2 separate regions of the Homo sapiens genome follow, and region 1 is linked to region 2. Evidence: promoter capture Hi-C in human tissues and cell types (Jung and others, 2019). All regions are on one chromosome and are shown on one strand. Each heading gives the region's core, a stretch centred on a gene start or on the middle of the fragment in contact. The rest is flanking DNA. Distances are from core to core; before and after follow the strand shown. Region 1 overlaps WDR25 (WD repeat domain 25). Region 2 holds the start of PPP2R5C (protein phosphatase 2 regulatory subunit B'gamma).

Evidence for each region. Contacts are between HindIII fragments. The study calls those that stand out against the background at their distance.
Region 1: a contact is called between a fragment that was not itself captured here and the fragment with the promoter of PPP2R5C in region 2, in 1 of the 25 tissues and cell types used here (dorsolateral prefrontal cortex).

What each region holds. Positions count from the first base shown.
Region 1 is chr14:100,382,582-100,389,357 of GRCh38, forward strand. All of the region lies in intron 2 of WDR25 (WD repeat domain 25), which reads left to right. Among named protein-coding and RNA genes, the nearest start is that of WDR25, 9.5 kb to the left of the region's middle. RefSeq lists enhancers at 1-183, 410-919. The HindIII fragment of the contact is 4,605 bases long and covers 3,167-6,776 here.
Region 2 is chr14:101,758,376-101,764,567 of GRCh38, forward strand. PPP2R5C (protein phosphatase 2 regulatory subunit B'gamma) reads left to right here and starts at 3,334. Exons shown (of 16, transcript NM_001352913.2): 1 at 3,334-3,545; 2 at 4,530-4,595. The coding sequence starts at 3,519. LOC107984658 (a long non-coding RNA gene) reads left to right here and starts at 5,704. Exons shown (of 2, transcript XR_001750901.1): 1 at 5,704-5,911. RefSeq lists silencers at 2,180-2,289, 2,360-2,509, 2,570-2,619, 3,080-3,239, 3,250-3,489 and 2 more. The HindIII fragment of the contact is 18,209 bases long and covers 1-6,192 here.

The sequences.
Region 1 (6,776 bases), core at 4,219-6,718, 1.4 Mb before region 2:
CCCCCAGTATGGAGGTACAGTGTGATAGGTCGTTGTGCCCACCTGGGACCTGTCTCCAGCCCTTCGAGCTGTGCACTGCATCCCTCCTCTCTCTCCTCGCAGCTAGCAAAGCACCTGATATGTAGCGGGTGCCAACTAAATGCTAGCTGAACAGAAAGCTCTTGGAAAGGAAATAACTTCAAGGGACCTGGCTTCACATCCAGCTTTGCTGCAGAGTAGCTAGCTGGTCGACCACTGGCCGGCTGCCTTCCTGTGGAGTCTAGTGTCTCATTTGTAAAAGGGCAAAATCATACCTGGGTCATGTGCTCATGTGAGAAAAATGCTGAAAAAGTGCCTTGCACAGAGCCAGGTACCTCATAGGCGCTCAGTAAATGGTGGTTCCCTTGCCCTTGTTTCCTCAGAGTTCTGGAACCAACTTTCCTACATCTTTTCTCTTGCAAATTACATTTTGAGCTTTTCTCCCTCGGAAACATTTTCTTAAGTGAAGAAAGGAAGCTCCAAGTATAGAGATGTCTTTGAAATGAGCTGAATTGATGGGTGGCATTTTTAAGTGGCGAACTGGAGTCCTGAAGTGGCTTGTCTGTGCTCTTTTCTAGCAAGACTCAGAGTCCTGTGGGAGAGAACGTCATATTCTCTCTTCAGCCTGGAGTTCCAGGATTTTCCACTTAGGTCTTTGGTGCTTTTCCTGCCATTCCGGGGGCTGTGAAGTGTGCGCGGAGGCTTCTGGCATCCCTGGCGTGGATCACAGCATGCTGGGATTGATCCTGTGGCCCCGGGGCTTCTCTGCTCTCCTTCCCAAGTCTGCGCTGCAAGGGCTGGAGGATGGGAAGCCCATCTGGAGGGTTGCTGGTGGGCCTGGGCAGTGTCTGACTGGCCCTGGAGTTCAAGTGGTGGCCCTTGTCCTCCCTGTGCTCACCTTCCTGTTGAGGCCTTCTTTTACCTGCCCGCTCACCTCTGGAGTTCTCTCTCCTGATGGTGAGGGGCAGACCTGGGGCCCTGTGGGACTGGCCTTCGCCTGGTGGCGTGAAGTGCTCCCTGGGCCCTGCTGGCAGAGTGGCAGCTTGGGTCACTTTTGCCTGGGAAATTTAGATTTCCTAAACAGAAGCATCCCCATGGTAGTTTTTGAGCAGAGAGCACCTGAGTAGAGGCATTGATTTCTGGCCTTGTGGAGTAGACAAATGTGCCAGGCACGGTGCCACTGGGGACGTGGGGGGAGAGACGTTTCTGCCCCCATGGAGGGGAAACTGTGAGCAGCCAACTAACTGTGACACCTCATGACCAGAAGAGGGCGCAGTGGGCCCAGCTTGGAATGGCAGTGAGGGTGGCTCAGACTGAGGGACTGTGGTAGGAATGCCCTGCTCCTGGGCGATTCAGAGACCTGGGTCCGGGTCTGTGGGGCTGCCCTGGGTGGGGCCAGGCGCCGCAGCTGTGCCCGCCTGTCCCGAGGAGACTGTGTGTGCTGCAGGTGATGACACTGGCATGGGCCCCTTGGGCTGCCAGGCAGCTTCTGGGGAGCCCCACCCACTGCACTGTGCACCCTGGGTTCCTTCCCAGGGCAGAGCACATTTGCTGTCATGAGGTTGGGCCAGGGTCAGCATGGCTGCTAGGGTTGGCATCTCCTGACCCTCTTTTTTTACTGTGGTGTCGTGAACATTAGGGCTTTTATAAGCCATAGATACAAATGGTGGGCCAGGGCCCTCTCTGTTTTAAGATATTTGTCAGTTTTCAGTGATGGGGTTATTTGGCAAATTGGTTTTGGGCAAATTGACTTTGAACAACTTTTCAGTGTGAAGAGTGTATGGCAGGGGCTGGAGGAGCCAGGATGGGAAGACAGATTGGGAACCGGCGGGGAGCCAGGCAGGAGCTGTGGCCAGAAGTCCCGGCTGAGGCCTCAGGCTTGCTGGGCCACCAGGTTTGTGCGTGGCCTGGCTGGGAGGCACATGGTGTTCTTTTCCCTCCTTGGTGTCAGAGGTGGGGCAGCATGGCAGATCTTGGGGACCTGGTGATCTGGGGAAGGCAGTGTGTGGGTGTGGGTGGTGGGTCTGGAGTGGGGATAGGGCCTCGGGCACAGGCAGGAGTCCTGGCTGGCTGCAGCCCAGTCCCTGGAGGAGAGGAAATGGTGGGTGCAGCATGGAATGAGCTCAAAGAGGCGGGTGCAGCAGTACACCCTTCCCAGGGTGCTTTCCCCCTGCCTTTTGGTTAAAATCTGCCAGTGTCTTCTGGGCCCCTGCTGGATCAGGAAGGAGGGAAGAGCTTGGGGGCTGGGTGACAAGACCTGCTTGGGTCCTTCCTCTACGGCCAGCCCCTTGGTTGCGTGGTCTCTGGCAAGTTACCTCACTTCTGAGCCTTCATTTGAGTATCTATAAAGTGGAGAGAATTAAACATGCCTCGCTGGGTTTTTGTGAAAAGTAAACGATATTAGTTGTGAATCACCAAGTGCAATGCCTGGCACATAGCAGGCACTTAGTGTGTGCTCGAGTTCCTGCTTTTCCCCAAGAATTTCCTCCTTTCCTTGACTTGTGCTCATGTCTTATTTTACGTAAGTAGCCATGGAAGCATATCAGCTTCACCTACTAGACTTTAAGCTTCCTGAGCCAGAACCCATTTTTATATTCCCCAGCATCTGGCACAAAATTGTGTACATGTTAAGTGATCGATAAAAATTAAAACAAATTTTTTGGATTTTATCGCAAGCCTTTGGGAAGGGATTGTCTTTTGAGTGGATAAATCATATTCGCCACTAGGGTGCACAGTAAGACTTAATATAAGCAGCTCATCCAAGCTTCTAGAATGTGGAAGAATCCTTGATTCAAGGTAACATTTACTGAAAAATGATTTCTTTCTGATCAGGAGAAAAACAACACAGTCCAACTTATTAATCTAAAGAACATGGAGTGCCAGTTCCTTCATATCCTTAAAACGTAGCTTCGGAATTCATACATTTCAACTGGACACATTACAGTGGAAAGATACTTATTTTAATATGTTCTAAATGTTCTGTGAGCTGTAAAATATGCTTTTATTAGTTTTGAAAAATTTACAGCTAGAGAAATTAAGTAAAATAAAACAATGACTCATAATTCTGCACCGCTGCTCTTTCCTGACGATCCCTTCCTCCCCTTGTCTGTGAACGTGCTTGTTTTTTTCATAGCTGTGATCCCAGCACGGATACCCTTTTATATACTCTTTTCATCTCCCAGTGAACTCTTTTGGCTTAACGTGTTTGAACACCCACTGCACGTAAAGGTAGAAATTCAGACTTTGATGCCTTTTTTTGAAGGAAAACATGTACGTGGCCTGCGTTAACCAAAAACACAACCAGCCGTTATTGAATGCTCCCATGTACAGAACCCTCTGCCAGGCACTGAGAGGGAGTCCCAAAGGAATAAGACCTTTGGGTGGGTGACAGAAGACCCACCAGGGACCTTCTGTACCTGTATGAAAACCTGCAGTTCTGAAACACAGAAGGTTTTTAAAGAAAATATATGAATTAGATGTTGTTTATTTGCTTTACAGAATAATTTGCTCTAGAAATTCTTTCAGTAACAAGCTTCCTTAAAATACTTTGAAAAAAAACCTTTTAATTTTTGACCATGAATGTAATAGATGCTTATTGTGAAAAACTTTAATGATGCAGGAAATATGAAGTATGAAGGAGAAACAGAAATCATTGATAACTCCCAACCCCAAGTCAGTGCCTCATTAACATGAGGGGCCTCCCTGGTCGGGGGCCCTACATTCCTATCTGTTTACATAATTGGGCTTATTGCATAGTATGTGCAGTTTTGAATTCTTCCTCTGCTGCCCAATCTTCTGTAACGTGTAAGGGGAATTTTTCTACCTTATTAAAAACTTTTCCCCAAATATATTTTTATAACTGTCTCAAGTTTCATACTTTGCTCCATCATTTCCATGTTGTTTCCTATAATTTCCTGCTTTTGTTTAAAAAATAATCAGTATTACAGTGAATATGGCTATACATAAATATTGTCTTTTTTTGCTGCCTTAATGCAGTTAAGATGGGCTTTGAGGCCAGGCGCGGTGGCTCATGCCTGTAATCCCAGCACTTTGGGAGGCCGAGGCAGGCGGATCACGAGGTCAGGAGATTGAGACCATCTTGGCTAACATGGTGAAACCCCGTCTCTACTAAAAATACAAAAAATTAGCCGGGCGCGGTGGTGGGCGGCTGTAGTCCCAGCTGCTCGGGAGGCTGAGGCAGGAGAATGGCATGAACCCAGGAGGCGGAGCTTGCAGTGAGCCCAGATCGCACCACTGCACTCCAGCCTGGGTGAAAGAGCGAGACTCCATCTCAGAAAAAAAAAGAAAAAGATGGGCTTTGATTTACACCCAGGCATTAGCTAAAGCCCTTGTGTGTGGTGAGAGTGGGACCTGATTAGATTGGCAAACCTTCAGTACCACTGTTGTACTCCTTGGCTCCCATGCCAAATCTTCTGCTTGGTAGCTGTGTGACTTTGGGAAAATCACTTAGCCTCTCTGATCCCCTAGTTCCTCACTGGTAAAATGGGGATAATTGGTAAATGGCCACCAATTAAGGTTGTTGCTGTAGAGCTGAAATGAGAAGATCCAGCCTAGTGCCTGACAAGGGAGAGGCTGAGGAAGCATGTTTCTGATTCCCCTGTACCTGTCTTGATTAGTTATAAAACAAAGTGTAGAAAAGACAAATCACCCAGAATCCTCCAACTTACTGTAACTCTTGTTTTTTGTGAATCTTTTCATTGTCTCTATGCACACGTTTTTAAAGCGTTTCAATCTCAGTGTTCTTGAGATAAATACTTTTAGAATCTAAAGAGTTTGAGGATTGTCTGTGCCAAGCCATTCATGCACTCCCTTTTCATGTACTGAACACTTGGCAGGTCTGTGTTGGAGAGCTGGTTCCCTGTCCCCAAAGTGGTCACATTTAAAGCATGGATGAGAGGATGGAGAGCGCTAGCCATTGCTGAGTGCTTACCATGTACTAGGCATGTTCTAAACGCTCCGTCTCCTCTTCATTACAGGCCTGAGAGGCCACTTCTGTCCTCATTCCCATTTTACAGATGAGGAAATTGAGGCACAGAGAGGTCAAGAGACTTGTCCGTGGTCACACAGCTAGTAAATGATAGAGGCAAGCAGGGAAGCTTCAGACTCAGAGCCTGAGCAGAAAGAGCTACCACCACTCACGCTGCCCTCCTGCCTCTGAGAATAAGGGATGGAAAAGCGCATCCCCTTCACCCAGGTGGTGTCCAAGCTCTATCCCAGCTTCCAAATTTTGTGGTTCTGTTAAGGGACATACAGAGAAGAGATGATTTCTGGGGTGGTTTGGATTTGCATTTTTATGTATCACAGGATCCTGTTGATTTATCATTGTTAGTGAATCTGATTACATTAAGATATCTTAGATGTGCTTTGTAGAAAGTGATCTATTTCACATTCAAAGACAAGGGATTTATGGCTCTAAGTGCCAGAGTGAGGGTTTATTTCAGTTTTGAAAGAATTATTCTTGATGGATTTTACAAAATGAGATTGAGAAATGATTTGATGTGTGGAGTGAGGAGTTGTGGAGCATTATGCAGATGATTGGCAATTTATTCTAAGCACGAGGCAAATCTATTGGCAATGAGAGGCGCAGCTGGGAAGGAGGTTTGGGTGGTGGTAGTGGGCCTTTGGTATTTGGGGAGTGAATGATTAACAGTGCATCCAGGGTAATTAGATGAAGGTGAGGAGAGAATTGGTGATGTGTGTGTGCGCATGTGCGTGCATGCATAGCGTTCATCTGGTTCATTTGATAGAGGCCCATAGAGGGGAAGACACGCCCGAGGACACACAATAGGTGTTTGGATGCTTCCTAGTCTGGACACTATATTTGCTTCTCTTCTTTCCCACCTTCCAGAGGACTTTCAGAATCATCTGAATTACCCCAGGATTGGGAGTGTGGGGCTTTAGACTGGTTGGCAGCAGAGCTGCCGAGCCTCTGGGAAGAGCCATGAGATTCTGAGCTGGAATCTTCTCTTCGTGGGAAGTGAAGTTTTTTTGACACTCCTCCTCCCCCATGTGAAAGCCGCGACATTTCTGAGGCCAACAAATGAGACATTTCCCAGTTCCAGTTGCCTTACAATCTTGTATCTTACAGAAAAAACCTTGGGTTGAAGAGGAATAAGAAAAGGAAAGTGTAGCAGAACCCAAGCTGTGTTTTCTGCTTTTTAATAACTTCATTCCATTTAACTTAAACAGTTCAGTGTACCAAGGGCGGGGCCTTGTGCTCGCCAGAAGCTGACAGGAAGAAAACAGCCGTGTGAAGGTGCAGCCTCTGTCCTCGAGAAGCAAGCCTCATTCACTCTCATCCCATGTCATTAAGGGAAGGATAGAGCAATTTGGAAAAATGCTTTTAATGTAATTGAAAAATGCAGATTGCAAAATTGGCGCACTTAGGAGTCGAGACAGTCTAGTAAATTATTTCTTGTTGCTTTTAAAACTCGGAGACAGTAGACTCTTAAAGGTGCTTGTCTAATGCCCAGTGATGGCCTGTGTCCAAATGAGTTGTTTTAGATTTAATTTGTTTTATCATAAAAGTGGTAAAATTTTGGGAAAAAATGCAAGAAAATGGCAGAAATTAAAAGATAAACCATAGACCCTTCATTCAAGCCTAATGACCATGAACATTTTGCAAGCAGCGTTTCCTTCTAGTCTTTTTTCCCTACATATATCAACTAGTTTTAATCATATGGTAGGTACTTTGTTTTTGTAGCCTGCATTTAAAATCATAGGGTGGTCATTTCTCC
Region 2 (6,192 bases), core at 2,084-4,583:
AGAAAAGGAGTTTTGTGTGATGCGAGCAGTGCCTTCATGAACATGGAATGTGGGGCCATCCTGGAAGAGGTAACCCTCAGCCACACACACACACACACACCCACATAATGGCTTTATATCCTATCTCAATAGCTTGTCCTGAATCCCTTCTTTTGGGAGCAGGAGCTATATCTATCTTTAGCGTTCCTGTAAATACCACAGCACCTAAGACACTGCATGAAACCCAGTGTGTTCTACGGGTAGTCGGTAACTAACTGTCCTTAAAGATGGTCCTCCCTAATGTGGGCAAATGAAGCCAGTCCAATGGCCAGTGACGTACACATGCAGTTGTACAGGTAATGGTGTTGAGTCAGATTTCTCTGGTTGCTATGGTTTCAAGGTCACTGGATGTTAATCAGGCAGCTTTGCTTGTACCCTGTCCCTATGCTTTCCCTAAAACTCTAAACTGACCTGAGAAACCTCTAACCTGACATGCAACTAGTCCTCTATGCTATATTTCCAGTTGCCATCTTGGACACCTCTACCTACATTTTGCGGACACAGCAACGTGTCCCAAACTGGAATCTTGTTCCCTTGCAAACCTGCCCTCCACTTGCATCCCTTCCTCATCATTCACTGTGTTGCCCAAACTACAAGCATGAGCATTCGCTTTTTATCCTCGATTCTGGCTCTCTGTCGCGTCGGCGATCCTTCCCCCCGTTGCTGTGGAGATGCCTCCCTGGCACGCACCTGAACCATAGCTGGATGCTGATTGCTCTTTCTGCCTCCTGCTTTTACTTCCACCCTCACCTCCTCCACACTCCTGCCACCGATGTCTTCTAAAATGCAAATGTGAGTACATCACTCCCCACTTCAGTATCTGTCAGTGACCCTGAAATGCATTCAAAAAGAAGTACAATATCTTGGCAAGGTCTACCAGTCTTAATTCAGCGTCGCTGTTCCTTCAGTCTCATCTCCGGCCATAACAAAACGTCCTGTGCAGTGCTCTGTCATGCTTCCAAGCCTGACCCCCCTCACCCCAGTCCTGTAGACTTGTCACATGTCATGTCCTTCTGATTGCTGGTTTTTTCTATTTCCATGCAAGCATGTGAACTGCTTGAGGACAAGGGTAGTGCCTTGTTCACCATGAAATTTCTGGCATCATGCTTTGCACATAGTAGTTATCCAACAAATGTGGGTCGAATGAATGAATTGTATGCAACACCGGATCAGGAGATATGATACAAGGATTTGGGTGGCAAAGGATTGTCTCAGAGATGCCTCTAAGCCTCCCTAAGAGTTCATGGCCATAAACCAATAGTTTCAGAGCTACTCCTTTTTGATATGGATATATCCTGGACTTATTAAATTGACAGCACATATTTTATTTTTAAAATGTTATTAAGTTAACTAGGGGCATCGCTCTATCCTCAAAATTGTTTTGGAGACACCATTAACCCACTTAAATTATTAATAAAAAAGCCACTTATTCCGCACAAATAGTTGAGACTGTCCTGCTTACCTACAGATATTCGTCTAAGAGCCGGCAGACATTCAGATACCCGCAGACAGAACTTACTTTCTGGACCTCCCACAACATTCCTCCCTTTAGATCTTTTTTTTCTTACCCCGTCTTTCAGCTTTCTCATTGCAGAACTGCTGAGAATAATGGAAAATGCTTTGCCTGGAAACTTCCAAGAACAAAACTCCGGGGGCTAAGAGAACGCGATGATTTTTAAGCTGCCAGTTAAGATGCAGCTCCTTCATCATCACAGGTGAAGCACCAATGCCTCTCGCACGTGAAATCCGTACGCTCCTAGAGTCTTACTACCTAATGCATTTCTGCAATCTGGGACGCCTGTCCTTAGCGTCTTCAATAGTTTTGGGCACGAGGTGGACCGCGGAAGTATTGTATTGAAAAGTTAACGTTTTTCCCTTGGACACCCTCTCCTCACAGCTATTAACAAGCTGAGAGAAATCAGGTGACTCCCAGTCATGCAGAGGTTTCCTCACCATTTATGATCAAGCCAAATTAAAGAATAAAAATAAAATCCTATTGGCGCAGCGGCCACCAAGTCTTTGAGGCCTCGCCTCGGTGGGCGGGGCCGACGCCGGAGGAGAGGGGCTGCGCATGTGGGCGTGACCTCGCGGAAGGAGCTGCGGAGGGCGGGGCCGACTGGAGAGGGGCGGGGCTGTCGGGTGGGTGGGACCTCGCGGCAAAAGCTGCGGAGGGCGGGACCAACCAGGAAAGGACGGGACTGTCGGGTAGGCGGGACCTTGCGGGAGAAACTGCGGAGGGCGGGACCAACCAGGGAGGGGCGGGCTGTCGGATGGGCGGGACCTCGCGGGAGGAGCTGCGGAAAGCTGAGCTGGTGAGGGGAGGGGCTGGTCGAGGGGAGGGGCTGGTCGAGGGGAGGGGCTGGCCGAGGGAAGGGGCCGGCCGAGGGGAGGGGCCGGTCGAGGGGAGGGGCCGGTCAAGGGGAGGGCCCGGCCAAGGGGAGGGGCCGGTCGAGGGGAGGGGCCGGTCGAGGAGAGGGGTTGGTCGAGGGGAAGGGCTGGCCGAGGGGAGGGGCTGGCCGAGGGAAGAGGAGGGGAGGGGACGGGCTGGTCGAGGGGAGGGGAGGGGAGGGCAGGGGACGGGCTGGTCGAGAGAAGGGGAGGGCAGGGGACGGGGTGGTCGAGGGGAGGGGACGGAGGGGAGGGGAGTGGAGGGAGAGGAGGGAAGGGGAGGGGAGGGAAGGGAGGGGAGGCGGGGCCCAGCGGTGTCCCGCGAAACTGCCGCTCGCTCGGTTCCCGGGCCTCCCCGTGCGCCTCAGTGCAAAGCGTGCCAGGCACTCTTGACTGCAACGAGAGCCGCGGCGGTGAGGGGGCAAGGCCAAGAGGCCACGGTTCGCGTTTCGCCGGCTGCAGAAGTTGTTGCCATACATTTCAAATGTGCATTTCCTACGTCTCACGCTCTGTCTTGCGCCTCCACAGCGGGCCACGGCCCTGTCACCGCAGTCGCAGCCACATGCTCCCTCCCCTGAGTCGGCTCAGCTCTGCTCAGCGGTCAGCCCCGCGCCAGGAGGCCGCGGCCTGCCTGAGGCCGGCTCGCAGCGACTCGGGACGGAGGGCGGGGGCGTGAACGGGTCGCGCGGAGAGGGTGGGGGGAGCGGGGAGCGTTAGGGTACGTGGGGGCGCGTCGACCAATGGCAGGGCGCTGTTGAGTGCAGCGGGGCGGGGCCGGGCGCGGGGGTGGGGCGAGCGGCGGGCGGGGCGGGGCGGCCGGCCGGGGGGTGGGAGGAGAGGGGCGGGGCGGGCCGGCCGGGGGAGGGGCGGAGAGACGCCGCCGCTGCCGCCGCCGCCGCCGCCGCCGCCGCCGTGGCTGCCGCAGCCTCTGGGAGTCTGGAAAAGGGGAAGCGAGAGCAAGCGAAAGACTCAGTCCCCGGGCGGCGGCGGCGGCGGCGGCCGCGGGGGCGCGACGGCCGGGGCGGGGGCGCTGCTGCTGCGGGGGCAGGCGGCGGCAGGGGCGGCGGCGGCGGCGGCGGCCCGCTCCAGCCATGCCGAATAAAAACAAGAAGGAGAAAGTGAGTCCGGGCCCGGCCGCGGGACGGAGGGAGCAGGGAGGGACTGCCGGGGGAGGGCGCGACGGCACCGGGGTCCTGCGCCCGGGCCCCGGCTCAGTTCCCCGCCTGACGCCGCGGGCTTCGCGTCCCCGAGGGCGGCCGAGCCAGGCATCCCCGGGCTTCTCTCGGCCTCATGCCCGGTGGGGGCGGGGAGCCCGGGGATCGCGCCGGAGCCGCGGGGCGCAGGCCCGGGCCGCTGGGACCTTCGTGATGGGCCGGGGCTGGGCGTGGAGGGAGGGCGCGGCCCGGGGAGGGGGTCGGAGGGGCGCCCGTTTCCGACAGCGCGCCGTGGGCTTGGGCGGGCAGGTGCGGCCGCCGAGGGGGTTCGCAGCCTCGCAGGCTCCCGGAAAGGAGCTTCAGGGATGGGGGCTGTAGACGCCTGGGGAGGGACCCCTGTACGGGGGAAAGGGAGCGAGAAGGGACCCCGCTGAGAGCTGGTAAGGAATTCTCTGCCGCCCCGGAGGGACGCTCTGGGGCTCTCGAACACTATTATTATCCTGGGTGGCGGCGGCGGTGAGGGCTGCGAGCAAGGGTGCTGCGTTTGCATTCGGGGGGGCGGGTATGTTTCTGCTTCAGGTGGAGCTCTGTAGCGTTTCATTATCACCCCAGAAATCCTCACTCATAGGGTTTAGGGTGGGAGGGTAGAAAGGGATGTGATGTGGATCTCAAAATGCCAGAAGCACTGTATAAAATTGGATTTATCTGTTTTCTGCTTGAAGTTTTCAACCTCAAATGCAGATAAAACGAAAAGAATCTGAATGGGGGTTGGGGGGCATTGCACTGTTGGAATCCTAAACGGTATGATATAGAATTTCCTAATGGTATGAATTAAAAATATCAGAAGCTGTAGTTGTATAAATCACTTTTAAAACTGCATTTGGCTTATCTGATGTTTACCTGTCTAAAAAGTGAGAAGACTAATTGACTTTGCTTGATGTTTACCAGGAATCACCAAAAGCAGGGAAGAGTGGAAAAAGTTCAAAAGAAGGACAAGACACAGTAGAATCAGAGGTAACTGTCATCAAATATTGACTTTGTATTTTATACACAGCTTTTAACTTCAGGTAGAAAAACCGAGAGTGATAAAGCCTAGAATCTTCTAAAATGTTTCCCTATGTGAGGTTTTTTTTTTGTGGTGTCTTTTATAACCCTCAATTTTAGTTGTTTAGGTATTTACTGTTTTGCTTTGGAAAACTATTAATGATTTTATGAAAATTGTGCTTGCCTATGGGGTTTGTTTGTGGGTCTTTTGGGGTTTTTTTTGTTTTTTATTTTTTTGAGACGGGGTCTCACTTTGTCACGCAGGCTGGAGTGCAGTGGCGCAATCTCTGCTCACTGCTACCCCTTGCCGCCCAGGCTCAAGTGATCCTCTTACCTCAGCCTCCCAAGTAGCTGGGACCACAGGAACATGCCACCACACCCAACAAATTTTTTTTTTTTTTTAATAGAGTCTCACTCTGTCACCCAGGCTGGAGTGCAGTGGCGCGATCTTGGCTCACTGCAACCTCTGCCTCCCGAGTTCAAGCAATTCTCCTGCCTCAGCCTCCTGAGTAGCTGGGATTACAGGCACCCGCTACCACGCCCGGCTAATTTTTGTATTTTTATTAGAGACGGGGTTTCACCAGGTTGGTCAGGCCGGTCTTGAACTCCTGTCCTCGTGACCCGCCCACCTTGGCCTCCTAAGGTGCTGGGATTACAGGCCTGAGCCACCGTGCCCATCCTGGATCTGGTATTTTTAAGTTCATTTCCCACACCTCAAACCCAGCAACCCTCCTGTATAGATTGGTCTTATGCAGTCTATGGTGTTGCTATGTTGCTTTTAGCTTTAGGGTCATCTCCCCACCGCCACTTCCATTGCAAGCTGCCAGGCAACTCAGTGGTTAGTTCTTTTTCTTCCATCACCTTGTTTTCCTTCAAACCACCTCTGCTACTGACGTCCTGGGCTAGCTCCCTATTTCTGTTGACGGTCCCTTGGCCTCTTTCTCCAATAATGTTGGTATTTGAAAAAATTTACCTAGTTTTGGTATTTTATTATTGTTCACATTGTGTGTGTGTGTGTGTGTGTGTGTGGGCGCGCGCACTTGCGCGTCGGCCACTTGTAAATTTCTTTGCTTCTTGGCTTTGGCCTCATTGAGGAACAGCTGGAATGCCAAGTGAGCATTGCATCTACTTGACCAAGGTTGATGCTGTTCCTTCACACCGTGAAGTGCCTTCAGAGGATTTGCAGAGTCACCACTTTCCTTTGCCTTTTCTTCCTTGTGACTAATTGTTGAACTAGAGCACCTAGGGCCAAGGGTCCAGGAGCTGCGTGGACCCAGGCAGAGCCAGTAGGTCCTTTTGAATCCATGGGTAGCACATAATTGGGTTAATAGAGTGTCAGTTATCCAGAACTGGATCATTGAAGCCCCAGTCTTATCACAAATGACGTTTATTTGCCAGTGTCAGACTTCTTCCTGTAAGCCAAATTAGAATGAGTTCAGTTCTGTCTGGGAAACACAGTTAACTGGCGATGATCTGCAGTGGACTTTTTTTTAGCCCTGCATTCTCTCTTTTCTATCATTTGGTGTATTCTGAACCTCCCTCCTCTTCAGCAGGTGGTTTATTCCAG